Regions from separate parts of the Homo sapiens genome. Here regions 1, 2, 3, 4, 5 and 7 are each linked to region 6. Evidence: promoter capture Hi-C in 16 types of primary human blood cells and fetal thymus (Javierre and others, 2016). All regions are on one chromosome and are shown on one strand. Each heading gives the region's core, a stretch centred on a gene start or on the middle of the fragment in contact. The rest is flanking DNA. Distances are from core to core; before and after follow the strand shown. Region 1 has its middle 330 kb from the start of ANKRD30A. Region 2 has its middle 400 kb from the start of ANKRD30A. Region 3 has its middle 260 kb from the start of ANKRD30A. Region 4 has its middle 350 kb from the start of ANKRD30A. Region 5 has its middle 380 kb from the start of ANKRD30A. Region 6 holds the start of FZD8 (frizzled class receptor 8). Region 7 has its middle 410 kb from the start of ANKRD30A.

Region 1 (2,700 bases), core at 88-2,587, 1.2 Mb after region 6:
GAACTGAATCCTGAGTTACTTCTTGGCAACAAAAAAGTCTCCAATGAAAAAAAGGGGTTTTAATCTTCATGATGTTCTCTAATGGAATAAGTCTTTTTTTTTTCATTCTGTAATCCTTGTGCACTATTCAATTTTTTTTTTTTTGTTTTCTTTTGAGTCAGAGTTTCACTCTTGTCGCCCAGGCTGGAATGCAATGGTGTGATCTCGGCTCACCGCAACCTCCGCCTCCCAGGTTTAAGCAATTCTCCTGCCTCAGTCTCCCTGGGATTATAGGCATGTGCCACCATGCCTGGCTAATTTTATATTTTTAGTAGAGATGGGGTTTCTCCATGTTAGTCAAGCTGGTCTCAAACTCCCAACCTCAGGTGATCTGCCTGCCTTGGCCTCCCAAAGTGCTGGGATTACAGGCGTGAGCCACTGCGCCCGGCCTCTACTATTCAAGTTATTAACGTTGTGTACCTCTCAATGTTTTACATCTTCTGATAAAATCAAAATCATGGTATTCAGAAGACTAGAGATGATTCAACCAAGCCTGTGAATCTCCCTCATTTAGAATCCCGCTGGGACCAGATCTGTTCTCCTTTGCCAGTGCACTGCTGCTGAAGCTATCCAGTATCAAGCACCCTCCCTCTAGACCCAGGGACTATCATAGAAGAGATGCGTGTGTGAGATTGTGTGGCCCAGTTTCAAGGGGTGAGAGTAGAAAAGCAGCCTGTTGCATGGCAAGACCAATGCCATTTGAAGTGAAACCACCATGATGAACAATGTTACACCCTTGCATGGTGCAACTTCACATGTGGCAAGGTCTTGAAACAATTCCTATAGCATATTCTGCCTCTCATAAAGATGCTTATCTAACCTCCCCAGGGGTCACAAGCCTTACAAGAACATCTGAGGCATGACCAGATGCACATGTTGGTACTCTTAAGAGCTTGCTATCTAAAGGGTACTTTCTAGAGGGTGGGTACAGGGATCCACCATCTCTCAGCCACCAGGGATATCACTTCTTTTCACAACTTCCTATTAAATACTTATTTTTTGATAAAAAAGTGCTTTTCTCTTTGGCAACAGATATTTATTAAGGATCTTCTACCAGTTCTAAATTGGGTAGGAAACAAAATATTAATCCAGAAATAGGTTTTCTTCCCTAAGATTTTACCCAGAACAATAAGCCCAAGTAAAGACAAAAGCTAGAGAGAAAATAGAAAAGCAATGAGTTTGATGGTCCTTCTCACTCAATAGATATTTAGTTAACACTTCTGAGTAGCCAGTCCTGCATGAAGTGCTTTGCATGGAAATACAAAAAGAAAGAAAATATAACTTCTATATTTGAAGAAGCAATAAACATGTTGTGCAAATTGAATAAACAAGTCTCTTCATACCTGGGTTGAGATACACACTTGGAAGTAATCAGCAAGCAGGTGGAATTTGCAGGGTTTCTGGTAAGAATTTGCAGAATGGTGAAAAGTGAAACCTGGGAATAAACACGAGCCACTAATGGAGCAGAGAGAGGTGAAGAGGAAGCAAGGAGAAGGACCTTAAAGAGTGCTGTTAAGTATGTATAACATTGATGATGACTGAACTGATTAAGCAGTTACTATCTGCCTGATAGGAAGTATATAGGCATCATTTTGTTTAATATTGAAACAATCTCATGAGGCAGGCACTATTATTATTATTCCATCCATTTTACAGACAACAGAACTGAGGCTTATGCAGCTTAAGTCATTTTTTCAAGGGTTTTCAAGTCACAAGGGCTGTTGTTAGTATGTGGTTGAATGAGGACTTTAGGGATGCCTACCCTAATTTCAGAATCCAAACTCAGAGGGTAGCCAAAAGTGCTGGGTGCTATAATGACATCTCATTGGGATGGGCTGAAAAGTGGCCATAGGGCTAGGCTATAAGAGTTGGCACAGTTTCTGCAGCAAGAAGGAGAAGAACACAAATGACAGTAGTGTGAAGATACAGGACATGAGATAAAGAGAGGATTCCATTATCATAACAGGCCTAATGAGCCACAGTAAAGCCCTAATTCACGAAACACCACACAGTGAAGAGAATGTCACTACCTGTTATTTAAATATCCTCTAAGAATGCTGAAAAATGATAAATGAAGAATGAAACTTATGAGGCTCAGTGGGACAAATTCTCTAAGCCATACTTTCTTCACTGAAATTGATTAATTTTCCTTAAGAAATGACATCATTCTCATGAGGTAATCTATGATTCGTTGGTCTAAGATAATCCAGTGGGCGACAAGGGTCATCTCTCAGTGGAAATCCTATGTTTCCATCTATACATTGCTCTATTTGATCAGTTCACTCTTTCTAAGTTCACCCTTTCCTGCATCTCCTGTCTTCTACTAGATTTTTATGCCAACTGGTATGACCATGTTTGAGGATTCCCTAATAATTAGACCAAGTGTGTCAACTCATGTACTTTTTTATCTCAAAAAGAATATATAAAGAATTTATCTTCTAATGAATATGTAGAAGAACTGTGAAAAATAAAACATACAAAATATACTATTACCATTTTATAGCATTTGTTTTGATACTTGAGTCACATCTAAGGCTAAACATAAAATCTCTGCTAAATACAGCAGAAGGCATAAGAAAATCTAGTTGAAAAGGAAACATAGTAAAAATACTAGTTAGATCCATAGAAGGTGGGTGTATTTTCCTAATATACTGACATGAT
Region 2 (2,700 bases), core at 169-2,668, 1.1 Mb after region 6:
TTCAGATCTTATACCTGTAGAGGGAAAGAGGGAAGGAAGGCTGATTGGGGTAGAAAGAGACTGCAGCATGGTTCCAAGAATGCTTTGGCCAGGTCAGTGGGGACTCCTCAAATTAAAGTTGGCCATTGGAGAATCTCACAACTTACTGGCAAAGTCCTCACATACAATCCTCACTGTGCTCTATGACTGTGGAAACATGACTGCTGCACAAGTGTAGAAGTGAGTCCAGAGACAGACAGGGCTAAAGGAAGGCTGTCATTGACTTATGCTGTCCAAGTCAGGATATCTGCATTGCAAATTTCCATGGTCATTAAAATCCATTATCCCCACCTCCAAATCCCAACACTGCACAGACATATTTGTCCAAACACGTTCTTCATACCAGTGCTTCCAAAATTCCCATAAGCCTCTCTTTCCCAAGGGGAATCTTAGAAAAGGAAGGTTAATGAGCCCATGCTATAGCGATTGGTCTCAGAACTGCCTTTGAATGCCCAGTTGTGAGAGGGGAACAGAGAAAGAGAGAGTATAGGAGTGGGGAGAGTGTGTGTGTGTATCAGTGTGTGTATGTGTGTGTGTGTGTGTGTGTGTGTGTGAGAGAGAGAGAGAGAGAAAGATTATCTCTGCTTCTTTTGTGGAAAAGCAGCCCTACCTCCTCCTGCTAATCAGGGTGTATTCATCCTGCTGGATGGTGATGTATTTCTTGTCTTTTGGTTGCTGGACCTAAGGAATCTAAAGCATGCAACAGATAACCTTCTTTAGAGAGCAAGACTTGCCTGCCTTCCAGATCCCAGAGCTGCACTGATGAGAAGCATGGGAGAACCTTAGAAGATTATTGGGAACACTTGTAATTGGGGACATTCCTGTTTCTACCTCTTCTTTTCTGAACCTATAGATTCTTCCTATGAAGGAAGAATACCATATAAAGATCTGTGATGGAATATGTATAAAAGATGGTGCCCCCTGCATTCAGAATATCTCCTTTGGCATGGTGCTTCAGTTTCATCTTTAGAATGTTTCTACAGGGCTCCATGAGTCCAGCTGCTTCTTGAAGTGTGTATGTAATACAAATAGTAGATTACATGGTCATGGACCCACTTCTGCACATCCTTAACTGTGAACAGGGAACCCTGGTCAGATGCTATATCATGTGGGATTTTATGCCTGTGGATCAGGAATCCCGGAAGCCTCAGAAAAGTGGTCCTGGCTCAGGCTCTGTGAACAGAAGTGCCAAACCCTCTGAGGATGAACAGGTGGTCATTCAAAATCAAAAGACTTGTCATGTCAGAGTCTCAATATTGATTTACCTTGCTGAAAAGTAGGACAGTCAGAGGCAGCAGTAGTTAGATCAACCTTGATACATAGGAGTCCAGGCTATGGGGCCCATATGTATCGTCCATCTCTGCCAATGTGGTCATATGTGTGACTCCATATGTGTGACTCCATATGTGTGACTGTTGTGCTTACTGTGGGAAAGCCAATCTCCAAGGCTGGCAGCTTGTCAAGTCATTTTGTCTAATTGGTTATTGAGTGCCTCTTCTGTGGTGAGTGCTTTCTTTCTTTTTTTTTTTTGAGATGGAGTCTCTGTCTGTCTCCCAGGCTGCAGTGCAGTGGCGCTATCTCGGCTCACTGCAACCTCCGCCTCCTGGGTTGAAGCAATTCTCCTGCCTCAGCCTCCCAAGTAGCTGGGATTACAGGTGCCCACCACCACAGCCAGCTAATTTTTGTATTTTTAGTAGAGATGGGTTGGCCAGGCTGGTCTCGAACTCGTGACCTCAGGTGATCCGCCCGCCTCAGCCTCCCAAAGTCCTGGGTTTACAGGCATGAGCCACCCCGCCCAACCCCGAGTGCTTTCTTGTGAGTGTTAATGAGTGATACAAGATTCTTTACCCTCCATGCCTGCTCCTGCATGTCCACTCAGATGCTTCTAACCCGGCTTCCTTGTCTCAGATATTTCAGTTCTTTTCTATCTAAGCCTCTAACCAGATGATTCACCCACTGACCAGGGCAAAGAAATCTGTTTATATTCCTGCCTCAGGCCACGTTTCCTTCTATGTAAAGTAGATGGCTGGGGCTACTGCTCCCAGTGCTGCTAATTGGGAAGATTTTCACTTCCTTCTGTCTTCCAGAGTCACTCTTGCATTGGGCTGTAATGCAACTACACTTTTTTTTTTTTTTTTTTTTTTGAGACGGAGTCTCGCTCTGTCGCCCAGGCTGGAGTGCAGTGGCGCATCTCCACTCACTGCAAGCTCCGCCTCCTGGGTTCACGCCATTCTCCTGCCTCAGCCTCCTGCATAGCTGGGACTATGGGCGCCTGCCACCACGCCTGGCTAATTTTTTGTATTTTTTTTTAGTAGAGACGGGGTCTCACCGTGTTAGCCAGGATGGTCTCCATCTCCTGACATCGTGATCTGCCCGCCTCGGCCTCCCAAAGCGCTGGGATTACAGGCGTAAGCCACCGTGCCTGGCCGTAACTACACTTTTAAATAGAGATTTCCTCTTTCTCCCTCCTTTGGATGGCCACAGGGACACAAATGCAGACACAGGTGTGAGCTGAAGGAAGGTTGCTGGTGCAAACATGGTAGGTGACACAAGGATTTGGGTTACCTGCTATTCAATTTATTCACTTGCTGTTGTCTTGCTTGGCCTTTGTCTCATATTTCTGATTTCCACCTCACGATGAACTACTTCTTGCCCCTTCTC
Region 3 (2,700 bases), core at 79-2,578, 1.2 Mb after region 6:
CTCTACTAAAAATACAAAAAAATTAGCCGGAAGTGATGGTGGGCGCCTGTAGTCCCGGCTACTCAGGAGGCTGAGGCAGGAGAATGGTGTGAACCCAGAAGGCAGAGCTTGCCGTGAGCAGAGATTGCGCCACTGCACTCCAGCCTGGGCGACAGAGCGATACTCTGTCTCAAAATAAATAAATAAATAAATAAATAAATAAATAAATAAATAAATAAATAACAGAAGAATTATACATAATCTATGTATGGATATTATATATATTTACATCACAAGCATTTTTCTGAAAAATATATTTTTTCTCAGCATGATATTTTAAAATTTGTTTTAAATACAACTTTCTGTAAGCTCCTTCAAAGTTACATCTTATGGCTCCTAAATTTGTAACTAGATACTTTCCACATACCCTTATTTCTACATTATCAATTTTTAATTGAAAAAATATTCCTTTTTCCCCTCGAAATAAAGGCTGAATTGTTCCGTATGTTCAGAGCAAATTATCCTAAAGGAAGATTATACCCAATTGTATTGAAATGTGTAATAATGACAAATATGTTCACAAAAAGAGCAAATACATTCACAAGTGTTGTATTTTTACCTCCATTCAGCGACTTTTCTTCAAATATCTTCCAAGTAAATCTGTCAAGTAAGTTGTATGTTTCATACAACTTTGTAATTTTCCTAAACTAAATTAAGATGCTTCAGAATCATAGGGCTTCTCAAGTCCGTTCCATTTCCTTACAGAATATAAGACATTCACGTAAAAAGTAATGTACATCAAGTGCTTATACAAGAAATATTTTTAACTTTGACAATTAAAGGTTCCATCTTCATTAGAATATCACCAGTTCTTTGAACACCATGATGAGCCGTTTTATACCATGAACACTTCTGCTCCCTGGGTTTCTTTTGATTGATTTAAAAAAAAAAAGTGTTTTGTTTTTGTTTTTTTTTTTGAGACGAAGTCTTGTTCTGTCTCCCAGGCTGCAGTGCAGTGGCACGATCTTGGCTCACTGCAACCTCCACTTCCCAGGTTCAAATGATTCTCCTGCCTCAGCCTTCTGAGTAGCTGGGATTACAGGCCCACGCCACCAAGCCTGGCTAAATTTTGTATTTTTTTAGTAGAGATGGGGTTTCACCATGTTGTCGTGGCTGGTCTCAAACTCATGACCTTGTGATCCGCCCGCCTTGGCCTCCCAAAGTGCTGGGATTACAGGCGTGAGCCACTGCGCCTGGCCTGTTTTTTACCATGATACTTTTGGAAACTAAATTTACAGTGGCATCCAAAATAATGTCAGGAGTTTCACCATTTACAGGATGAAAAGCTAAACTTTGATTCCATAAAAAGGATTAAAAGTAATCTATTATTAGAATTAACTGCTCTTTTATTTGAAGCATCTGCTGACACCAGTATGGCAGTGACATTATTTAACAGTGTGAACAATTCTCTTTGTGGTACCCCAGACAACCTCTTACAGCTATCACTTAATTTTTTATATGCAAAGAATTTACAATCTAAAATGAACAAAATTAATTTAGAGAAACAGTCAATCTAAATAAATGTAAAACATTTTTTGCAGTGTAATAGGTAAATGTACTTTTCATATCTTCATGTTTTACATTGTTTATAGGCATAGGTTCCTTAAAATAACTATCAAATGTTCAAGTTTATGATAATACTTTTTTAGGAGACATGTGTCTTCTGTGTTTATATGGTCAGTGATATCACTATAGACCCATAGTTGATGAGGCTATAAACATTTTATGTAGGTTATATATTTATCATCTGGTTTCTTGAGAATGGAAATCCAGTTATGTGTCTATTTTCAAACCAAAATGTACTTTTTGCATTTCTACTGCAAGGATTATTGCAAAAAATGTTACAAACAATAAAATAAATAATTACAGATTTTTTCTACACAGAGTCACTATAGCGAGGTCTTCTTTGCCTGCATTTGTTTTCTTGCACTTAACCTGTAGTTTCCCAGGTGTCCCTCTGAGCAGTCCACCTGGCCTTGTGCATCTCCCAGGCCCTAGCAATGACCATGGCACCAACAGCCGAGGTGAGCTGATGTTCAGCTATGGGAGCATCAGGGACGGCAGCTGACTTTCCCACGTCCACCCAAGCGTTGAAGGATTCTGCTATCCCAGGCATTGGTGTCAGCACACAACCTCATTACAGCCACAGGCACCCTACATGAGGCCAGTGACACTGAGATGCTAGGTCTGTTTGGAAAAGAGGGGCAGAAGCCAGAAGTGAGAAGGGGCAGTATCCAAATCCACCCCAGTGCATTTTAAGGCAGCAGTTAAATATTATAGTTTATTTTAAGTGAGAAAACATCAATATTCATGCTAAATGGACAGGAAGTGGTTCAACAGCTATAAACCAAGACTGTGCAGGACATGCAAGTTATGACATTTTTTAGGACTTAGATGAAAGGAGGTTCTTATCTTGCATTATTTCAAGGTACTGATGGGGCAGATGACATGTCTTTGTTATTGGCAACAAAAAAGAGTGCCTTTTTTGGTATTTGTCCCAAAGCCTTTTTTGAGAGAGCCTCTTCCACCCTTTAAGTATGCTCTTTAGGAATTAATCTAGCCATGACTCCCAGGGTTTAAAGCTCACGGGGTTTCTCCTAATCCATGCCCCTGTAGGACATTTCATCAGGAGCCTCCACTTACCTAGTTAAGTGGCTTGAA
Region 4 (2,700 bases), core at 171-2,670, 1.1 Mb after region 6:
TGTGCAGCATGTGACTTCCTCAGCTTCTATTTCCCAGAGGAACTGAAAATACCATCACCATGAAAACTAACAAATTTGCACTCAAATTCGGTTAGTTCATTTAAAACAAAAACATGTGGGGTTTGTCTATGTGCATTGGTAAGAATGGAGCGTCCCTGACCTCTTTCTCACACTTGGTCCAAATAAAGAGAAAAGTTACTAAACTCAGGAGCCTTCTGTAAGTTGATGATAATTCACAAGTGATTTGAAGTATTTGCATTTACACTATTGAGATGGCACAGAAATGACACCAAGAATGAAGACTCGATGACTTTTCTTACTGTGGGGCACAGATACGAGTCTGATTTAACTTTTCTCAGAAACGGATCTTCTGGCCTATTTAAACTTTATTCGGAGACTAACAAAGAGCAGCTGAAAATCTTCCTCTTTAGAAAAGATGGAGAAAAAAAACAGGAATGAATCACATAGCATCGTCATTATGGGCATATTAACTCCCTATGACAGGGAAATATGGGTCCCTTAAACTACCTCAAAAGCTTTAGCAAACTGTGACTTAACAGCAGATGTTTAGCTGTGAATTTAACTTGTCATCTTTAAAGACAGTATTTAATTGTTTCCCTTCATTCAGGCAACAAATAGCTCTTTTAGGAAGGAAGGGCAATGTTACTCACATTCTTTCTACCAAAAAATGTTGTTATTCTTATTTTGTTTTAGCAGAAGATATCAATCAATGTTGGTCATGGTAGCCATGTGTCTATGTGAAAACAATTAGGATAGCAAGAACCATTAATGCTTTTCTCTTATCTGGGCATTCAATTAATCTAATGATGTCATCAACAAAGACAGAGAGATGAAGAATGAAAAACTCTAAATTTGAGCTCTTGCTGGCAATATAGTTTTAAATATTTCTATACAAAATAAACAACCTCTAAAATGGCAGCTTCAACTTAATCTCCATAAACCTTTTTCTTATATGACAATATCCTACGATTCAACTCTTGGTTATTTAGGTTCTTATTTTGTATACAATGTGTTCTTTTCAGCTATTCATTATGCCATTTTTAGAAGATAAAATGGAATAGAAAAAAAATTGTTGGATTTTCTGTATTGCTGTAATTAGTGATGATTAACTAATTTGAAAAGTACTCTAAAATGAGAATTTTACATCAATCGGTTCACTTTACTAATAATCTTATTTCTTTTAAAAAATATGTGTGGGTTTGCCTTCCCTAAGCATGGTTCTAAGGGCTTTGTATGTTAATTAATCCTAATAAACATGCTTCCGTTAGAGGCTGTGATTATGAACATTTTTCAGATAAATTTAAAAAATGGGTTAAAAAAATGTAAGTAACTTATTCAACATACAAAGCTCATACATCATAGAGCCAGAATTTGAAATCAGGTACTAGAGCTCAAAAGTTCTGAACTTTCCAGGAATGTGAGACCAGCCTGGGCAACATAGTGAGACCCCATTTCTACAAAAACAAATATTAAAAATTAGTCAGGCATGGTGGTACACTCCTATATTCTCAACTACTCAGGAGGCCGAGGCAGGGGGATCACTTGAGTTTAGGAGTTTGAGGCTATAGTGAGCTATGATGATCATACTTGCATTCTAGCCTTCGTGACAGAGCAAGAGCTTGTCTCTTAAAAAAAAAATATTTGGAGGTTTTAACCCAGATTTTTTTTTTTTTTTTTTTTTTTTTTTTTTTTGAGACAGAGTCTCACTCTGTCACCAGGCTGGAATACAATGGCACGATCTCGGCTCACTGCAACCTCCACCTTCCAGGTTCAAGCGTTTCTCCTCCCTCAGCTTCCCAAGTAGCTGGGATTACAGGCACCAGCCACCACGCCTGGCTAATTTTTTGTATTTTTAGTACAGATGGGGTTTCACTATGTTGGCCAGGCTGGTCTCAACCGCCTCACCTCGTGATCCACCTGCCTCAGCCTCCCAAAGTGCTGGGATTACAGGCTTAAGCCACTGCACCTGGCCTAATTTTTGTATTTTTAGTAGAGACGGGGTTTCACCATGTTGGCCATGATGGTCTTGATCTCCTGACCTCGTGATCCACCTGCCTCTGCCTTCCGTGAGTTTTATTTTATTTGTAATTGCTCTGTCTTTTTCATCCTTTAATATTCAACATTTCTTTGTTCTTGTTTTATATATATCTTTTATAAATAGTAATTACATGATCTTTAAAAACAAATCTGATAGTGTTTGTATTTGAGCTGGCAAATTCAGTCATTAACAGTTTTGGTGATTACTGATTACTGATATATTATGATTTTTTTACCATCTTACTTTAAGCTTAACATATGTCTTACTTTTCTTAGCTTGTTATTTCTTGTTTTATTCTTGCTTTGTTATTTCTTGAACTCTGTTTTGCTTGTTTTTGTATTTCATTGTCTTTAAAAACCTAACGATTTATGTGTGTCATCTTCAATTTCTTTCTTCAGTGTTTTGTGGTTTTCCTTGTAGAGGCTTTTCACCTCTTTGTTTAAATTTATTCGTAGGTTTTGTTTGTTTGTTTGTTTAAATAAGATTACTTTGGGCTTTTTAATTTGTCTTTTGTAGCTATTGTAAGCAGGATTACCTTCTTGATTTCTTTCTCAGATTATTATTGGGTTATAGAAATGCTACTGAATTTGTAGGTAGATTTTGTATCCTGAAACTTGACTGAATTCATTTGTAAAATCTAA
Region 5 (2,700 bases), core at 68-2,567, 1.1 Mb after region 6:
TCCCAAGTAGCTTGGATTACAAGTGCGTGCCACCATGTCCAGCTAGTTTTAGTATTTTCAGTAGAGACTGGGTTTCATCTTGTTGGCCAGGATGGTCTTGATCTCTTGACCTGGTTATCCACCCGCCTCAGCCTCTCAAAGTGCTGGGATTACAAGCGTGAGCCACCATGCCTGAACATAATTTCTGTATGGCATGATTAAAGAGTTCTGGAAATGGACAGTGGTAAAGATTGCCTAATATGGTGAATGTAACGCCCTCTGAACTGTACATTTAAAACTTACTAAAGTGTAGAGCTAATGAAGAAATATGGGGCACACCAAAAGAGCCTTAATTCTTTTTTTTTGTTGTTGTTGTTGTTGTAACAGAGTTTTGCTTTTGTTGCCCAGGCTAGAGTGCAATGGTGCCATCTCGGCTCACTGCAGCCTCCGCCTCCTGGGTTCAAGGGATTCTCCTGCCTCAGTCTCCCGAGTAGCTGGGAATACAGGCATGTGCTACCACAACCAGCTAATTTTGTATTTTTAGTGCAGACAGGGTTTCTCCACATTGGTAAGGCTGGTCTCAAATTCCCGACCTCAGGTGATCTGCCCACCTAGGCCTCCCAAAGTGCTGGGATTACAGGCATGAGCCATCATGCCTGGCCAGAGCCTAGTTTCTTTTAGCATCACTCATTTTATAAGTCAAAAATTGTCATGATTTTTCTAGACATCACCTAGGAAATCTAAAAAATACTTCTTTTTCCCTAAAAATCAGAAAATATTTACTTTTTAGAATTTAAGATATAATTTCAGATGGGCAAAAATACAAAGTGTTATCAGAGGAGATTTGGTCACTATGACTAAGATAGGAATACAGGTGCAGAGAGGAAAATAGTGGCAATAATCACAATGACAATACAATATTCTAAAATAAGCATAGAAAAAGATATCATAATTTTTAGAAAATGTATCCCTTTCATAATGAATTACTTACGCTGTACAAATGTTTTTCCCTGATTTTTCTTTCTAGCTTCATTGAAGTATGATTGATAAATAAAAATTGCACATATTTAAGGTATATAATATGATGTGATGTATGTATACATTGTGAAGTAATAGCCACTGTCAACATTTTCATCAACTTACAAAGTTGCACTTTCTCTGTGTGTGTCTGTGTGTGTTTGTATGGGAATACGTAAGACCTACCCTGTTAGCAAAGTTCAAGTATACAATACATTCTTATCAGCTGTAGACACTATGCTATATATTAGGTCCCCGGAATGTATTAATCTTTTAACTAAAAGCATAAGATAAAAGCATAAGCATAAATTTAAACTAATGAGTTTAAATTTTTTAGATTTCACAGATAAGTTCGATTATGAAGCATATTTGTTTTTCTGTGTCTGGCTTATTTCACTTAGCATTATGTTCTCCTGTTCCATCAATACTGTCACAAATAGTAGTAGTTCCTTCTTTTTTAAGGCTGAATAATATTCCATTGCATGTATATGCCACATTTTCTTTATCCACTAATCTGTAATAAAGGCTATCATTCAAAATACACAAGAAAACCTTCAAATTTCATAAGAAAGCAAATAATTCAATTAAAAAATGAGAAAATATAAATGAACAAGTCACTGAAGAAAATATAAAAATGGCAAGTTAAGTATTTGAAAATATATTCAACAACATATTGAGAGGTGACAGTGTGCTGGCAGCCCTCACTCGCTCCTGGTGACTCCTCAGCCTTGGTGCCCACTCTGGCCATGCTTGAGGAGCCCTTCAGTCTGCTGCTGCACTGTGGGAGCCCCTCTCTGGGCTGGCCGAGGCCGGAGCCGGCTCCCTCTGCTTGCAGGGAGGTGTGGAGGGAGAGGTGCCAGCAGGAACCAGGGCTGCCCACGGCACTTGCAGGCCAGTGTGAGTTCTGGGTGGGTGTGGCTCGGCAGGCCCTGCACTCAGAGCAGCCGACTGGCGCCACTGGCCCTGAGCAGTGAGGGGCTTAGCACTTGGGCCAGCAGCTGCAGTGGGTGCGCCAGGTCCCCCAGCACTGCTGGCCCTCCCACACCACGCTCGAGTTCTCACCAAGCCTCAGCCACCTCCCCATGGGGCAGGGCTTGGGACCTGCAGCCTGCCATGCCCAAGCCACCCACCCCACCCCCCATGGGCTCCCATGCAGCCCAAGCCTCCCTGACAGGTTCCACCTGCTGCTCTGCGGCGCCCAGTCCCATTGACTGCCCAAGGGCTGAGGAGTGTGGGCGCACTGCGTGGGACTGGCGGGCAGCTCTGCCCATGGCCCCGACATGGGATCCACTAGGCGAAGCCAGCTGGGCTCCTGAGTGGAGTGGGGTCTTGGAGAACTTTTATGTCTAGCTGGAGGTTTGCAAATGCACCAATGAGCACTCTGTGTCTAGCTCGGGGTTTGTGGACACACCAATCAGCACTCTGTGTCTAACTAAAAGTTTGTAAATGCACCAATCAGTGCTCTGTGTCTAGCTAACCTAGTGGAGACTTGGAAAACTGTTATGTCTAGCTAGAGGATTATAAATGCACCAATCAGCACTCGGTGTCTAGCTCAGGGATTGTAAACACACTAATCAGCACCCTGTCAGAACAGACCAGTCAGCTCTCTGTAAAATGGACCAATCAGTGCTCTTTAAAATGGACCAATCAGCAGGATGTGGGTGGGGCCAGATAAGGGAATAAAAGCAGGCTGCCAGAGCCCAG
Region 6 (2,700 bases), core at 143-2,642:
GCTGCTCGCCGGGCGGCGGCGGCGGCAGGCGGCGCGGCGGGCTGGGCGCGGCGGTGGTTAGGTCGGTGCGGTTGTAGTCCATGCACAGCGTGTCAGGGTTGCCTTGCTCGGGCAGCCGGTCGCAGCGCATGCGGTCGGGCCAGGCGAAGCCGTACTGGCGCATGAGCGGCGCGCAGCCGGCCTTGGCGCGCTCGCACACCGAGCGGCAGGGCGGCAGCGGCTTCTTGTAGTCCTCTAGGCAGATGGGCGTGTACATGCTGCACAGGAAGAACTTGAGATCGGGCGAGCACTGGATCTCCACCAGCGGCCAGAACTGGTGCACCTCCAGGCCCGCCTCGTCTTGCGTGTCGTGGTTGAACTGATTGGGCATGTAGGTGTAGTTGTAGCCGATGCCCTTACACAGCGGCACGGTGATCTCTTGGCATGCCAGCTCCTTGGCCGAGGCGGCCGCAGCGCCGCTAGAGCGCTGCAGCAGCGCCAAGGCGGCCAGCAGCGAGGTCACTTCCAACAGGTAACCCCACTCCATGCTGTGCGCCTCGGCCCGGTGCCCTCGCCCTCCAGGCGGCGCGCAGAGGGGTGCCGGGGGGGGGGCCCACGAGAGAGCCGCAGACGGGTACAGCGGGTGATCTGGGGTCTCCCTTATGCTTCGCCCGGGAGGGGGGTCTGCCGATAATCTAACCCCTTCTAGGGGCGCGTCCGCAGCGGCGCGGCCCGCAGCCTGGGCAGGGCCCTTCCGCACTCCTTTCCGCCGCTCCGGGGGTTTGAAGGCGGCTGCAGGCGCGCGCCACAGTCCGTAGGTCCGCTCTGCTGGCCCCGGGTCGCGCTCAGCCCTCGCGGCGCAGAGCGGCCGGGCCTCGGCTCATCGTCCCGCGCTCGCTCGCCTCCTCTCCGCGCGCCCGACCACTTCTCCCCGCCGCGCCGGGCGGCGGTGACTCCGCCGGACAGAGAGGGCGGAGGCGCCGCAAGTTTCCTCTGGGGCCGCGGTGCGCAGTCAAGATGGCTGGGCCGGGCCGCTTGCCGCGCCGGGTCAGCCCTGGCGGCCACCACTCGGCCCCCGGGGGCTCATGCCCGCCCCCAAGGCCAAGCCGCCGCCGCCGCCGCCGGAGTTGGGGACCCGCCTCGGCCCAGGCCGCCGCCCTCTTTCTCCGGCGTCCGTCCTTCGTCCGTCCGCCGCCGGGACAGACGGACCCCCGCCGCCTGGAAAAGTCAGCGCCGCGCTCCGGCCGCAGTCGGGCGAGGTGCACACAGTCTCCTTCCTGCTGGACACCCAGGAGCAAATCCAGACCGGAAGGCGGAGCGGACACCTGAGTGGCGCGGCCCGCGCCCAGCCGCCGCCTCCTCCTCGGCGGGAGCAGCGCCCTTAGCCCAACTTCCCGGCTCCAGCCCCGCTCGCGCCGCGCTGCCGGCTCATGAATATTTATACAGCGCGGACTCGGTCTCCGCCCCCAGCCCCGCGAGCCAATCGCCGGGCGGTAGGGCGGAGTCCACGCGCTCCCAGGGCTCAGCCTTCCTTAAGGCAGTCCCCGAGTGTCCGCACTGCTGTGCGCGCTCTCTGCGGATGGAGAGTTTTGGTAACCTTGGGATTGACCGCAGAGACAGAGTGTTGGCCATGGCTGTCCCCATGGCGCTGAGTGCGTCGGAGGTCTTGGTCCCCTTACCCCGAGTCTGCCCTTGGGGACAGGGACGGGGTTTGGTGCAGCGCGCGCCTCCCCGGCGCGTTTCAAACCAGCCAAGCCCCTGCTGCCACCCTCCGCAAATGTGGGTGATCTGCAGGCGGCTGGGGTCTCGTGCTCCTCGGGGCGGCAGGAAGGTCTCGCAGCAGGCGAGCGCCGGGGAGGCCTGCCGGGGCTCGGCGCTGCAGAAGACCCGGGAAAGGGTGTCCTCCTTGGGGTTCTCAGAACGATGGTTTCTGAGACTTGGAGATGTGGGGGGTGTGGAGTCATTCTAAACTGGGGCTGGACCCGGGACGGCCCGGGTGAGATGCCCCGGAGCCCAGCCTTGGGCGCGCGAGGGGCGCGGGGGACAAATGCCCGCCAGAGACTCTCCTCCCGCCTCCGCTGCGTGACCTGGGGGAGCCTCAGTTTCCCCACCTAGAGAGTTGGGTGATCATAGCACAGATCTCCAAGGGGGCTTTGATAATTAGGTGAGATAAAATATAGGAAGCCCCGAGCCGCCGTGCTTTCTTAGGAAAAATCATTCAATTTCTTTCTAAAATTCAAAACAAACCTCGAAACTTATAAATAGGACAGGCTGGAAACTCTGGGGCTGGATTCCCTGTCTTCCCTTCGTTCTTTCAGGACGTCTATTCATCCATCCCAAGTTCACAGGCTTTTGCCAGAGCCTCCTTTTCTCTGGTGGGAGGCGGCGCTGCGCTCTGGCGTGGACTCCGCGACACGTATCTGCTCTCTGCACGAGGCCGGAGCCGGACCCGGGCTGCTTTTAGCAGCCGCTTGGGCCACCGCCAGCGAACGCTGCCCCCGCCGGCTCCGCCGCCACCTTAAGACGGGCCGGGAGGGGGGCTGCGGGCGGCCCGGGCCGGCGGCCTGGCAGGTTCATTTACGCTTGTTAGGGCGTCCCAGGGGGCTGTCTTTCTCCTAGAATGGAGTGTTTATTTTTTAATTGATGTGCTGTTTCATTTAGCGCTTGTATGGAACTCATGCTGGGGCAGTAATTACTGTAATCTCGGGAACAAGCATTTCA
Region 7 (2,700 bases), core at 137-2,636, 1.1 Mb after region 6:
TATGTGATTATGTTTTTACAACCATCTGCAATATCCTGGACCTCATCAATGAGTTATCATTTTTTAAAAGTTAAAGAAGAGCTGGAGTGAGTTTTTCTGCTTCTCAATGTTTCCTGAGTCTAGTGGTCCACAGACCAGGGCCAGGGACAAGGTTGTGTGGCCTGTGCAGTTGCAAAGGACTCCATACTGAGAAGGCCTCTGCATTTGGTATCAGCTTTCTGGGAGTGTCTAGAAATACTAAATAAATTTTGAACAAGGGACTTGCATTTTCATTTTCTGGGGGACCCTGCAAACACACAACTGGTTATCCCAGTGAAGCTCAGAGTACTATGGACCCTATGGAAATCTACATTCACTCTCAAAGCATATCATCCAATGAGCACTGTACTGCCCTGCAACATAGGAGAAAGCAGCGTGAGGAGGTACTATCTATACATGCCTTTTTAACAATTTTGGCCTTTAGACCATTTATAAACCAGTAAGCCAGTCAGAGAATGTAAACTCTGCTACCAATCTGGCATTTCTAAACATATCTTGTTTTTAAAAGGATTCAATGGGAGTTTTCCACTTGGGCTACAGTGAAGTAATTTGTAGCAAGCAGCATCACTACCAAGAACAGCTGGAATAGCAGAAAAAATTTAAACATACAGATGTTTGAAAACATCTGAGAGCTACTGAGGCAGCCGGTATCTGAAAGGAGGGAAAGGAGAACTGCAGAGAAATAAATTCAATATTCAATATGGCTTTTCTTTCTTTTTCAAACTTTTGAGAACACTTGCCAAATTTGTGTATAGGGCAAAGCAGCTGAGAATTGTTATAGAGGGCTACTGCTAAGAGAAAAATAATGATCAGAGATTCATCAATCTGACCATTTTGAAGAAATAAAAATCACATGGCAGGACTGTCAAGGAATTCAGAATTTGTGAAGTCAAGATCCTGGAGAGAGGAAGAGTTAAAAGAAGGCAGTCCTGTCTGATGTTAAAGCATTTGCTGCATTTTTAAGCTCCATGGGGCAAAAAACTAAGATGACAAGCAGTGAGTCAGTGACAATCAGAGTATACAGCTGTCCATAGTCCTGATGTGGAAAAAAAACAAAGTGGAGTTTGAGAGTAAGCAAGGGCTTAAAGACCATAGGTAATACCCAAAGCTTTAAGTTAGGACACCAGTAACAGGAGAAGGGATGGAAAGAGGAAGATGAAACCTTATAAAACTGGAAACCAGGCTTGAGTGAGCTCCATCTTTGACTGGATTATGGTAATCGGCTCCCCTGGCTGAGCTGCTTACCAGAAGATGGGGTGAAGACTTTGTGGAAGAAGAAAACATTATTCAGAGGGGCTACAGATCTTCATAGCAATTTCTAGAATTTAATAAATAATTAGAGATAAAAGCAAAAAAATATAAATAGGAACACAAGTGAAGGAAATATTGAAGTTGTCAGACATATACTTTAAAAACACCATTAAACATGTTCAATTAGAAAGATGACAAAAGGGGTTGTTTCTTGTAGAGTTGTTTGAGTTCTTTGTAGATTCCAGATATTAGACTTTTGTTGGATGCATAGGTTGCAAATATCCTGTCCCAATCTGTAGACTGTTTACTCTGTTGATTACATCTTTTTCTGTTCAGAAGCTTTTTAGTTTAATTAAGTCCCATGTATTTGTCTACTTTTGCTTCCGTTGCATTTGCTTTTGAAGTAATAGTCATGAATTATTTTGCCTAGGATAATATCCAAAAGAATTTTTCCCAGGTTTTCTTCTAGGACTTTTACAGTTTCAGGTCTTACATTTAAGCCTTCAATCCATCTTGAGTTAATTTTTGTATATGGTGAGGGATATGGGTCCAGTTTCATTCTTCTGCAGGTGGCTAGCCAGCTTCCCCAGTGTAACGTACTGATTAGGGTGTTGCTTCCCAGGGTATGTTTTTGTCTACTTCGTCAAAGATCAGTTCACTGTACGCACGTGCCTCTATTTCTGGATTCCCTCTGTTCCATTGATCTATGTCTCTTATTTATATACCAGTACCAGGCTGTTTGGGTTACTACAGCTTTGTAATACAATTTGAAGCCAGGTAATGTGCTGCCCCAGCTTTGTTCTTTTTGTTTAGGGTTGTCTTTTCTAAGTCTTTGAAAAATTATGTTTGTATTTTGATTGGGATTGCACTGAATCTGTAGATTGAAAAGTGAGCACGGGAAATGAACAGACGTTTTTTCAAAAGAAGACATGCAAGGAGCCAACAAGCACATGAAAACATGCTCAGCATCACAGATAATCAGAGAAACTCAAATTAAAACCACAATGAGATACTATCTTACACCAGTCAGAATGGCTATCATTAAAAAGTCAAAAAATAAGAGATGCTGGTGAGGGTGCAGAGAAGAAGGAACACTTGGCATGCTGTTGGTGGGATGTAAATGAGTACAACCTCTACAGAAACAGTATGGATTTGTCAAAGAACTAAACACAGATCCATCATTTGATATAATAATCCCACTACTGCATATCTACCCAAAAGAAAAGAAAAAATTATATCAAAAGACATCAGCACTTGTATGTTTATTGCTGCACTATTCACAATAACAAAGATAGAGAATAAACCTAAACACCCATCAAGGTGGACCGGATAAGGAAAAGGCAATATACCTATATATATTCGTATTTGTGATTATACATTACATAAACACTTTATTTATAATATATAATT

What was found. Contacts are between HindIII fragments. The CHiCAGO score rates a contact against its expected background, and 5 or more counts as called.
Region 1: a fragment that was not itself captured here is called in contact with the fragment with the promoter of FZD8 in region 6 in 4 of 17 cell types (endothelial precursors, total B cells, M1 macrophages and 1 more); the score reaches 11.1 in endothelial precursors.
Region 2: a contact is called between a fragment that was not itself captured here and the fragment with the promoter of FZD8 in region 6, in 2 of 17 cell types (naive B cells and total B cells). The highest score is 12.4, in naive B cells.
Region 3: a fragment that was not itself captured here is called in contact with the fragment with the promoter of FZD8 in region 6 in 6 of 17 cell types (erythroblasts, M2 macrophages, total B cells and 3 more); the score reaches 8.1 in erythroblasts.
Region 4: a contact is called between a fragment that was not itself captured here and the fragment with the promoter of FZD8 in region 6, in 8 of 17 cell types (endothelial precursors, naive B cells, total B cells and 5 more). The highest score is 22.5, in endothelial precursors.
Region 5: a contact is called between a fragment that was not itself captured here and the fragment with the promoter of FZD8 in region 6, in 4 of 17 cell types (naive B cells, total B cells, endothelial precursors and 1 more). The highest score is 7.0, in naive B cells.
Region 7: a contact is called between a fragment that was not itself captured here and the fragment with the promoter of FZD8 in region 6, in 1 of 17 cell types (naive B cells). The highest score is 6.8, in naive B cells.

Annotation. Positions count from the first base shown.
Region 1 is chr10:36,792,976-36,795,675 of GRCh38, forward strand. No RefSeq gene overlaps it. Among named protein-coding and RNA genes, the nearest start is that of ANKRD30A, 330 kb to the right of the region's middle. The HindIII fragment of the contact is 2,997 bases long and covers 1-2,700 here.
Region 2 is chr10:36,728,536-36,731,235 of GRCh38, forward strand. No RefSeq gene overlaps it. Among named protein-coding and RNA genes, the nearest start is that of ANKRD30A, 400 kb to the right of the region's middle. The HindIII fragment of the contact is 8,119 bases long and covers 1-2,700 here.
Region 3 is chr10:36,864,335-36,867,034 of GRCh38, forward strand. No RefSeq gene overlaps it. Among named protein-coding and RNA genes, the nearest start is that of ANKRD30A, 260 kb to the right of the region's middle. The HindIII fragment of the contact is 6,428 bases long and covers 1-2,700 here.
Region 4 is chr10:36,771,112-36,773,811 of GRCh38, forward strand. No RefSeq gene overlaps it. Among named protein-coding and RNA genes, the nearest start is that of ANKRD30A, 350 kb to the right of the region's middle. The HindIII fragment of the contact is 1,772 bases long and covers 535-2,306 here.
Region 5 is chr10:36,746,470-36,749,169 of GRCh38, forward strand. No RefSeq gene overlaps it. Among named protein-coding and RNA genes, the nearest start is that of ANKRD30A, 380 kb to the right of the region's middle. The HindIII fragment of the contact is 6,155 bases long and covers 1-2,700 here.
Region 6 is chr10:35,640,904-35,643,603 of GRCh38, forward strand. It overlaps FZD8 (frizzled class receptor 8), which reads right to left and starts at 1,393. Exons shown (of 1, transcript NM_031866.3): 1 at 1-1,393. The coding sequence starts at 526. It overlaps LOC124902528 (zinc finger protein 469-like), which reads right to left and starts at 1,943. Exons shown (of 2, transcript XM_047426128.1): 1 at 1,727-1,943; 2 at 825-1,510. The coding sequence starts at 1,943. The coding sequence ends at 825. MIR4683 (microRNA 4683) reads right to left here and starts at 349; the gene lies at 269-349. It overlaps LOC105376494 (a long non-coding RNA gene), which reads left to right and starts at 2,412. Exons shown (of 2, transcript XR_930820.3): 1 at 2,412-2,700. The HindIII fragment of the contact is 11,239 bases long and covers 1-2,700 here.
Region 7 is chr10:36,711,852-36,714,551 of GRCh38, forward strand. No RefSeq gene overlaps it. Among named protein-coding and RNA genes, the nearest start is that of ANKRD30A, 410 kb to the right of the region's middle. The HindIII fragment of the contact is 482 bases long and covers 1,146-1,627 here.